3 separate regions of the Homo sapiens genome follow, and all the other regions are linked to region 3. The links are contacts of gene promoters, found by promoter capture Hi-C in blood cells and fetal thymus (Javierre and others, 2016). All regions are on one chromosome and are shown on one strand. The core of a region is centred on a gene start or on the middle of the fragment in contact, and the rest is flanking DNA. Distances in the headings are between cores, read along the strand shown.

Region 1 (2,700 bases), core at 166-2,665, 820 kb before region 3:
GAGACCAACCTGGCCAACACGGTGAAATTCCGTCTCTACTAAAAATACAAAAATTAGCTGGGTGTGGTGGCAGGCGCCTGTAATCCCAGCTACTTGGGAGGCTGAGACAGGAGAATCACTTGAAACCGGGAGGTAGAGGCTGCAGTGAGCTGAGATCACGCCACTGCACTCCAGCCTGGGCAAGACAGAGGAAGACTCCATCACAAAAAAAAAAAAAAAATGTTAAGACCTAAAGGACAAGAAGGGTTGGCCTGGGTGGATGTGGGAGTTCAGAAACTTCCAAAGCAGAGAACAGCACGTGTGAAGCCCTGTGGTTAAGAAATAACAGGTAGGGCCTGTTCAAGGACCTGAAAGAAGTTTAACATGGCTGGAACAGAAAAGGAATCAAAGCAGAAGCATAAGAGACCAGAAAGTACCTTTTTCGAACACGTCTCTTTCTCAAGGAGCTGCTCTCCTCTCTCCTTTCTTCTGTCTATTAAGCTTTCCACTCCTTAACCCACCCACATGTCCGTGTCCTAATTCTTTCTCGGCAGGCAACAACAAACCCTAGGGTATACACCCCAGATAGTGTAGCCACTTCATAATGGCAGCTTTGTCCGGGATACCAAGGTACAACATTCATAAGAACGGTAAGGGGAAGAGCGAACTCTAACTCTGTCCTTTCATTCCAAGGTTCTCGGCTTCCATTTTAGACCTTTCATGGAGGACTTAGCTGTCGTGTGGGGCTGGAAGAAGTCCTGGGGCAACTGAGGATTTCTGGCCGGCGCTACCCCCTGGTGTTATCCAAAGGCTTCTGGACCCCAGCCGCCAACCGCCCCAATGCGGTGTCGGCAACAGGATCTCCAACTTTCCTATTGTAATCTCCTCCTCTCCTGTTCGCAACCGTCATATCTCTTATCCTCTCTGTATGAAATGTGTGGGAAGTTTTATGGTTCAGGGAAGTAGTCTTGTTTGGTAAGATCAGGGAATGTCGTAGTAACAAGGCATATAGCTCAAGGGGAAGCGTCTTTGTGATTTTCTAAGAACAGGGCTCCCTGACCCCCCAACAGTGAGAATCTCTCTTTCTCTGCCCTTGGTCTGGAGAGCACATGGCATTTTCCAGGTCTCTCTCTGCCCTTGGTCTAGAGAGTATGTGGTGTTTCAAGGTCAACAGCGCCACCTAGTGAAATAGGAATCCTCTCCATGAAGCACACTGTCAGTCCAATGAAACATCCTAGCCTCCCAATTCTCTTTCCTTTTTGTGCCTCTCTACTAGAAACCAGGCTTTATGCTGGTTCTGTAAATGAGAAAACTCTGCCTTCAACAATTAGGGGTAAAATATTCCTCCAAAGCCAAAATTTAGTCTCAATACTGTCTCATCAGCAGGAAAATGGCCATTCAATCCCTAAGTTTTTTTAAGCCACCTATTCTGCCTTCAATTAGAGTAGTACTTAATTAGTAAGGGAATTTTAAGTTTGGAAGTTAACTGGAACCATTATCTAAGGGTAAATGCTTCAGCACAGGCCATAATAGCAGGATACAGAGTTCAATCTAGCACATCCCCTGCATTAAAGGGGCCTTGCCCAACTATTATGTAGTTTTTCTTGAAATCCATTTTTCAGGAAGCCAGGCAAGTCACACAAGTCTAGGAAGTTAAAGGGAAATCACAGGCAGAGGACTACAGCCACTTGGGTGAGCATGACTAGCCCCAGTGACTTAGTTCCTCTGGTTCCATGACTGGGGGTCACACTTGCAACCATGGGCAGCATGTTCAACAAGGTGCCTGGGACCCAGGAAACACAGGGGGAAAAAAGCAGGGGGGATGCCCCCACTGCTTCCTCTCCACCATGGGTCACACCAAAAGGAAGGAGACTAAAGGGCCACCTTTTTCTCTAAGTGGGTACCATCTTCATCCTGCACTCCCCTGGAGTGCATTCTGAAGCACAAGGATTTCTTTGACCCTGAAACTTTAAAAAGCAGCTCATTTTCTTTTGCACAGGGCATGGCCTTTTTACTAGACCTTTGCAAGCGTTACAGAATTAACCCAGCCCTTTTAGCAATCATATTGAGCAGGCCCAAAGAGAATAATTCCCCAAAATGAGAGAAGCAACTTCTGGGGAAATCATCTGAGGCAGCTATTGGGTGTCCCAGCCCTTCAAGTCCCCCTTATTTAGGGCCACCTCCAACCATACCACCAGTTCTTCCACCTCCACCATCTCCAAAATTTCCCACTCCCCACTTTCACTCTTACCTCTACAGGAAATGCCCAATGGAGGTGATGTCACTAGGGTTCAAGTTCCCTCCTCTTTGCAAGACCTTAGGCAAATAAAGGTGACTGAGGCCAATTTTCTGAAGACCCTGATAGGTATATAGAAGCTTTCCAAAATTTAACTCAGGTGTTTCACCTCTCATGAAGAGATTTTATGTTGCTTCTAAGCCAAACCCTAATTACAGCTGAAGAGCAGGCAGCAAAGAAATTGAAAGATAAGCAACGTTTCCTATAGTAGGCCTAAAACGAAAAGAGAAAATAGGGAAGGCAAAGAAATAAGAGAAACACAATTCCCAATAGGAAGAGAGGCGGTACCTCTTGACAACCCTAACTGGAATCCCCAGACTTTTCTATGGTGTTTTTCCTTCTTTCACAGTGTACAATGGTTCCTATCTCTTCCTGTATAATGTTCCTCCAAAGTAGGAAAAGTTAATTTCCCCAAACCTTAAAAT
Region 2 (2,700 bases), core at 176-2,675, 760 kb before region 3:
TTGGGAGGCCAAGGCAGGTGGATCACGAGGTCAGGAGATGGAGATTATCTTGGCTAACACGGTGAAACCCCATCTCTCTCTACTAAAAATACAAAAAATTAGCCGGGCATGGTGGCACACGCCTGTAGTCCCAGCTACTTGGGAGGCTGAGGCAGGAGCATGGCTTGAACCTGGGAGGCGGAGGTTGCAGTGAGCCGAGATCGCACCACTGCACTCCAGTCTGGGTGACAGAGCGAGTCTCTGTCTCAAAAAAAAAAAAGAAAAAGAAAAAAGAAAAGAAAAGAAAAAATTAGCCGGGCATGGTGGTGCGTGCCTGTAATCCCAGGTACTCGGGAGGCTGAGGCAGGAGAATCTCTTGAACCCGGGAGGCAGATGTTGCAGTGAGCCAAGATCGCACCATTGCACTCCAGCCTGGGTGACAGAGTGACTCCATCTCAATAAATAAATAAATAATAAGTAAAATTTTAAAATTATTCAAAAATTTAAGATTATTTATATGTGTTTTATAGAAAGTCAGATATAGCAGGTAAGCAGATTAAGAAAATAAAATCCTTATATTTCCAAAAGATTAAGCTTTAATATATCCTTCTAGTATAGTGTGAGATATATACTTCATGTGTGTATGTATATACATATATACTTACCAGGTGAAATTATACTGTACATGCTATTTCATAATCAGATTTTTTTCCAGTTAATCTCAATTTTACCATGTTGATACATTTTCATCTCTTCTAATACCTAACCTCAATTTCAGTTATCCCAGTTGTTCCCCAAATGTCCTTTCCAGTTGGTTTGTTCAAAGCAAGACCCGCCAGGCACACTGACTCACACCTGTAATCCCAGCACTTTGGGAAGCTGAGGCAGGCAGATCACTTGAGGCCAGGAGTTCGAAACCAGCTTGGCCAACATGGTGAATCCCTGTCTCTACTAAAAATAGAAAAAATTAGCAGGGTGTGGTGGCACACACCTGTAGTCCCAGCTACTCTGGAGGCTGAGGCATGTGAATTGCTTGAAGCTGGGAGACAGAGGTTGCAGTGAGTTGAGATCATGTCACTACACTCCAGCCTGGGTGACAGAGCAAGGCTCTGTCTCAAACAAACAAACAAACAAACAAACCAACCAACCAAAGCAGCCACACACACACAAAAAAACCAGAAACAAAGCAAGACCCAATCTAGGTCCCACATGACATCTGGTTGTTGTTTCTTTTTATTTTATTTTTGAGACAGAGGCTTGCTGTCACCCAAGCTAGAGTGTATTGGCGCGATCTCGGCTCACTGCAACCTCTGCCTCCGGGGTTCAAGTGATTCTCCTGCCTCAGCCTCCTGAGTAGCTGGGATTACAGTCGCCCACCATCACGCCTGGCTAATTTTTGTATTTTTAGTACAGACTGGGTTTCACTATGTTGGCCAGGTTGGTCTTGAACTCCTGACCTCAGGTGATCTGCCCGTCTCGGCTTTCCAAAGTGTTGGGATTACAGGCATGAGCCACCGTGCCTGGCCAGGTTGTTCTCTTTCATAATCAGTTTTAGAATCAGAAAATTTAACATTTACTATAATAATATTATCTAACCTAGAGACCATATTTAATTGCCGCCAATTTTCCCAACAATATCTTTTATAGAATTTTTTTTGGACGAAGAGCCAAATTCAGAATAAGGCATTGTGTTTGGTTGCCATGTCTCTTTATTTTTCTTTAATCTGAATAGCTTGGCATTCTTTGTAAAAAGAGCTTTCTCTTATTAACTGGGGTGATTTGGTTGTCCTAAAATACAGTTTCTAGAACTATGATAACTATAACCAGAAAATGTAATCTTTAAAAAATATAAACTATATAATATAACACTCCCCACTTCTCTCCAAAGCACTTCCCAGGTTAAAACCCTTGAAAGACTTCACATTTCACACCCAATAAAGTCCAAACTGCTTACTGTGCTGTGCAGGCTGATCTAGCTCCAGGCCCTCATTTCCTATACTTTTCCTCTGCACTGACTTTGCTCCAGCCACATTGGCTCCTTGCTGCTTCAGGGATACAGTCAACTCATTCCTGTCTTGATGCCTTTGCTTTTGCCCTTCCTTCCAATGATTTACAACTAGGTCTTCACGTGTTGGCTTCTTCCAGTCACTGAAGCCTTAACTCCTTCCCTGACACTCAGTCTATGGAGCTCCTCTCTGACATAATCTTGTTTTATTGTCTTCACAACATATCTCACTGAATGAAATTATCACATTTATTAGTTTTCTTCTTAAATTTCTATCTCCTTTTCAAAAAATGTAAGCTTCATGAAGACATGGTTCTTTTTTTTTTTTTTTTTTTTTTCTGAGACAGAGCCTTGCTCTGTCGCCCAGGCTGGAGTATAGTGGCGTGATCTTGGCCCACTGCAACCTCCGACTCCCGGGTTTCGATGATTCTCCTGCCTCAGGTTCCCCAGTAGCTGGGATTACCGGCGCATGCCACCACGGCTAATTTTTGTATTTTTAGTAGAGAGGGGGTTTCGCCATTTTGGCCAGGCTGGTCTCGAACTCCTGAGCTCAGGTGATCCGCCCACCTCGACCTTCCAAAGTGCTGGGATTACAGGCATGAGCAACTGTGCCTGGCAGAAGACATAGTTCTTGTCTGTTTTTTTTTCCTCTAGTGCCTAGAATAATTTTTTTGTTTATGATAAGTTCTCAACAAATATTTCTTGAATTACAACAT
Region 3 (2,700 bases), core at 150-2,649:
TTTACCGTGCTAACCTTTAGTGGTTTCATTCTACCTAAGTTTTTTTTTGCAATTGGATTACAAGTTGAGCACCCCTAATTTGAAAATCTGAAATCTGAAATGCTCCAAAATCTGAAGCTTTTTGAGCACCCACATGATGACATAAGTGGAAAATTTCACACCTGACCTCATGTAAGGGGTCACAGTCAAAACACAAGCAAACAACACATATTTATTCAGCATCCCCAAGGGGAAAATAAAATTACCTTCGAGGTAATGAAATATAAATAAATTCTGTGTTTAGACTTGGGTCCCCTCCCCAAGATATTGCATTATGTATATGCAAGTATTCCAAAATCCAAAAAAAAAATCTGAAATCCTAGACATCTCTGGTCCCAAGCATTTCAGATAAGGGATACTTGACTTGTATAAGCTCCTTGAAGGGAGGGCTCAGGCTTCAATAAAGAGTTAACCTTCCAGGATCATTGTATCCACCCCTGTATCTCCCACAATACTGCGCACACAGCAGGGGCTCAAGCAATAACTCTGCCTACATGTTAGTTTTCTGGTGGGTAGAAACTAATTTGTAGAAACAAAAAAATCTACATGTATGGACCAATAGTGTCTGAGGTTCTCAGCAGGAACCATCAAATTCTGCAGCAAGCACATTTTCCTGGCCTACTACCACTCCAGCCTTAGAGGCAGGCACCTGAGTTTTTCCCAGGTCTGAAGGGACACTTCTGTCCAGCAATGGTTACTGGTTGAGTTGGCACAGGAAAGGCGTTGGGTGCTATAACCACTCACAACCTAATTCCCCTTCCTCAGACGATTTTCCTAGGAGTGAAAGACCAGCTCCAAATCATAGGCCCGCCCTGCCCCCAGATCTGTCTCTGGGCCGGGTGCCCTTTCCATAACACACACTCGCCACTGCATGGGGGACAGACATCCTTCCGGTGTCTTGGAGACTGAAAAACCCTAAGATCCCTAGTGGTGATTCTCCAAAAACAGAACCTAAATATTATAACTTTGGGGGCAGATGAAAGGCTGTAAGGATGAAAACAGAGGGAGATGAGTGGGTGAGAGGTGGGGTAGATAGGTGAGCGACCTTATCTTCCTTCTTTCAAAATTCAACCCACTGCATCAGGCGACACCCGTTCCCCTCGAGAAGGCCCCGGGTGGGGGCCGAAGTGGGATAGGCCAGGCCTGGAGTGCGGAGAGATGGAGAAAGCTGTAGGGTCTGGCAGACATATCCTGTGCTTACCACGATCACCACTTTGGGGGTGGGGCCCTTAACCTCCCGCTGTACGGTGCCAAACCGCTGGCTGTACATTTTCGAGTCCCCTTCGGGACGGGGGCGGCGTCCGCCGCGTTTCCCCCAACCGTGGCGACCTGCGGGACCCGCTTCCGCGACGCAGAAGTCTGGTTGCCATGGTGCGCCTCGCGGGATTAGGGGCCGGTAGAGGTGGGCGGGTCGGGCGGAAGTCGGTCTGGTCACCATGGGGGCCGCAGACGCCTGCACTCGGGACTTCCTCTTCCAGCTGAGAAGCTGAGCCTGCGCAGTCCTCACCCCGCCCCTCGGCCAAATCCCGCCGACCTTGCTCCCTTCCTCCAGGGTTCATCAGAATGGCAGAAAAAACCTCTAGCCCAAGAAAAATCAAAGCTCTAATTACAATTCCAGTTGACTTTGCTATTTATATCTTGTAATGGTCTAAAAGTATGAAAAAGGTTAGCGAACATTTTTTGGGAAGCTTAAATTTTGCACTATCTGTAGGTTAATCTTGATGACGGTAATAATCACAGGAAAACCTTATATTTGTGTAGTTCTTTACAATTTCCAAGATATTTTCACACACACAGCCTTTTAACCTCACAGATTTTTTCTGAGACAAGGTCTCGCTCTGTCGCCCAGGGTGGAGTGCAGTGGCGTGATCATGGCTCCCTGCAGCCTCGTCCTCCTGGGCCTCAGCCTCCAGAGTATCTGGGACTACAAAGCCTGCGCCACCACGCCCTGCTAATTTAAAAACAAATTTTGAAGAGACAGGGGGTCCCGCTATGTTGCTCAGGCTGGAACTCCTGCTCCTGGGTTCAAGCGATCCTCCCCACTGCCCCTCCCGCCGGCCTCCCAAAGTGTTGGAATTACAGGGTGCGCTACCGCGCGTGGCCGCAAATATCTTACAGGGTTGATAGAATAGCAAGTAATACTATCCTTATTTTCCAGCTAAGGCAAAGCTCAGGGAGCCTAAGTGCCTTGTCAAACCAAATAACCAGTAATAATAATAATTTTTTAAAACCTGTTAATAAAATCTTCCTATTTGCCATTGGCAGAAACCAGGGCTTAGACTCAGGATATCCTAGGATGGGGGCAGATCAAATGGACTAGTGGGGCAGTGGCACGACCTGGTGGAGCATAATTAAGAGTCTGAGGGTCACAGTGGACCAGGGTCAGGATGTGGATCAGAAGTCCAGTAACTGGTTTCTGAGAATCAGGATCCAGGCAGAACAGGAAACACAAATCAGGGAACCAGGACGGACCTGCAGCACAGGTGGTAACCACAGTTGCATTTCCAGTCAAGAGCAAGGTGGTAATACCTAAAAGCCAATTAAGAATGACACTGTGATACTCCCATTCTAAAGTGGGGGTGAGCATAGAACACTTGTGAGCACATGCAACAAATCAGTACCTACGTCAAACTGACATATAATAAGTACAACTAATGTGTA

The links. The method cuts DNA at HindIII sites, captures the fragments that hold promoters and counts their contacts. A CHiCAGO score of 5 or more calls a contact.
Region 1: a contact is called between a fragment that was not itself captured here and the fragment with the promoter of CFAP53 in region 3, in 1 of 17 cell types (total CD8 T cells). The highest score is 5.9, in total CD8 T cells.
Region 2: a fragment that was not itself captured here is called in contact with the fragment with the promoter of CFAP53 in region 3 in 16 of 17 cell types (total CD8 T cells, activated CD4 T cells, non-activated CD4 T cells and 13 more); the score reaches 16.0 in total CD8 T cells.

The regions. Positions count from the first base shown.
Region 1 is chr18:49,446,857-49,449,556 of GRCh38, forward strand. The region is part of intron 1 of DYM (dymeclin); the gene reads right to left. Among named protein-coding and RNA genes, the nearest start is that of DYM, 12 kb to the right of the region's middle. The HindIII fragment of the contact is 1,875 bases long and covers 479-2,353 here.
Region 2 is chr18:49,502,031-49,504,730 of GRCh38, forward strand. The region is part of intron 2 of LINC02837 (long intergenic non-protein coding RNA 2837); the gene reads left to right. Among named protein-coding and RNA genes, the nearest start is that of LINC02837, 4.0 kb to the left of the region's middle. The HindIII fragment of the contact is 1,708 bases long and covers 572-2,279 here.
Region 3 is chr18:50,265,096-50,267,795 of GRCh38, forward strand. It overlaps CFAP53 (cilia and flagella associated protein 53), which reads right to left and starts at 1,400. Exons shown (of 8, transcript NM_145020.5): 1 at 1,241-1,400. The coding sequence starts at 1,309. It also overlaps a transcript of MBD1 not described here. RefSeq lists enhancers at 804-1,649, 996-1,125, 1,296-1,365. The HindIII fragment of the contact is 1,610 bases long and covers 116-1,725 here.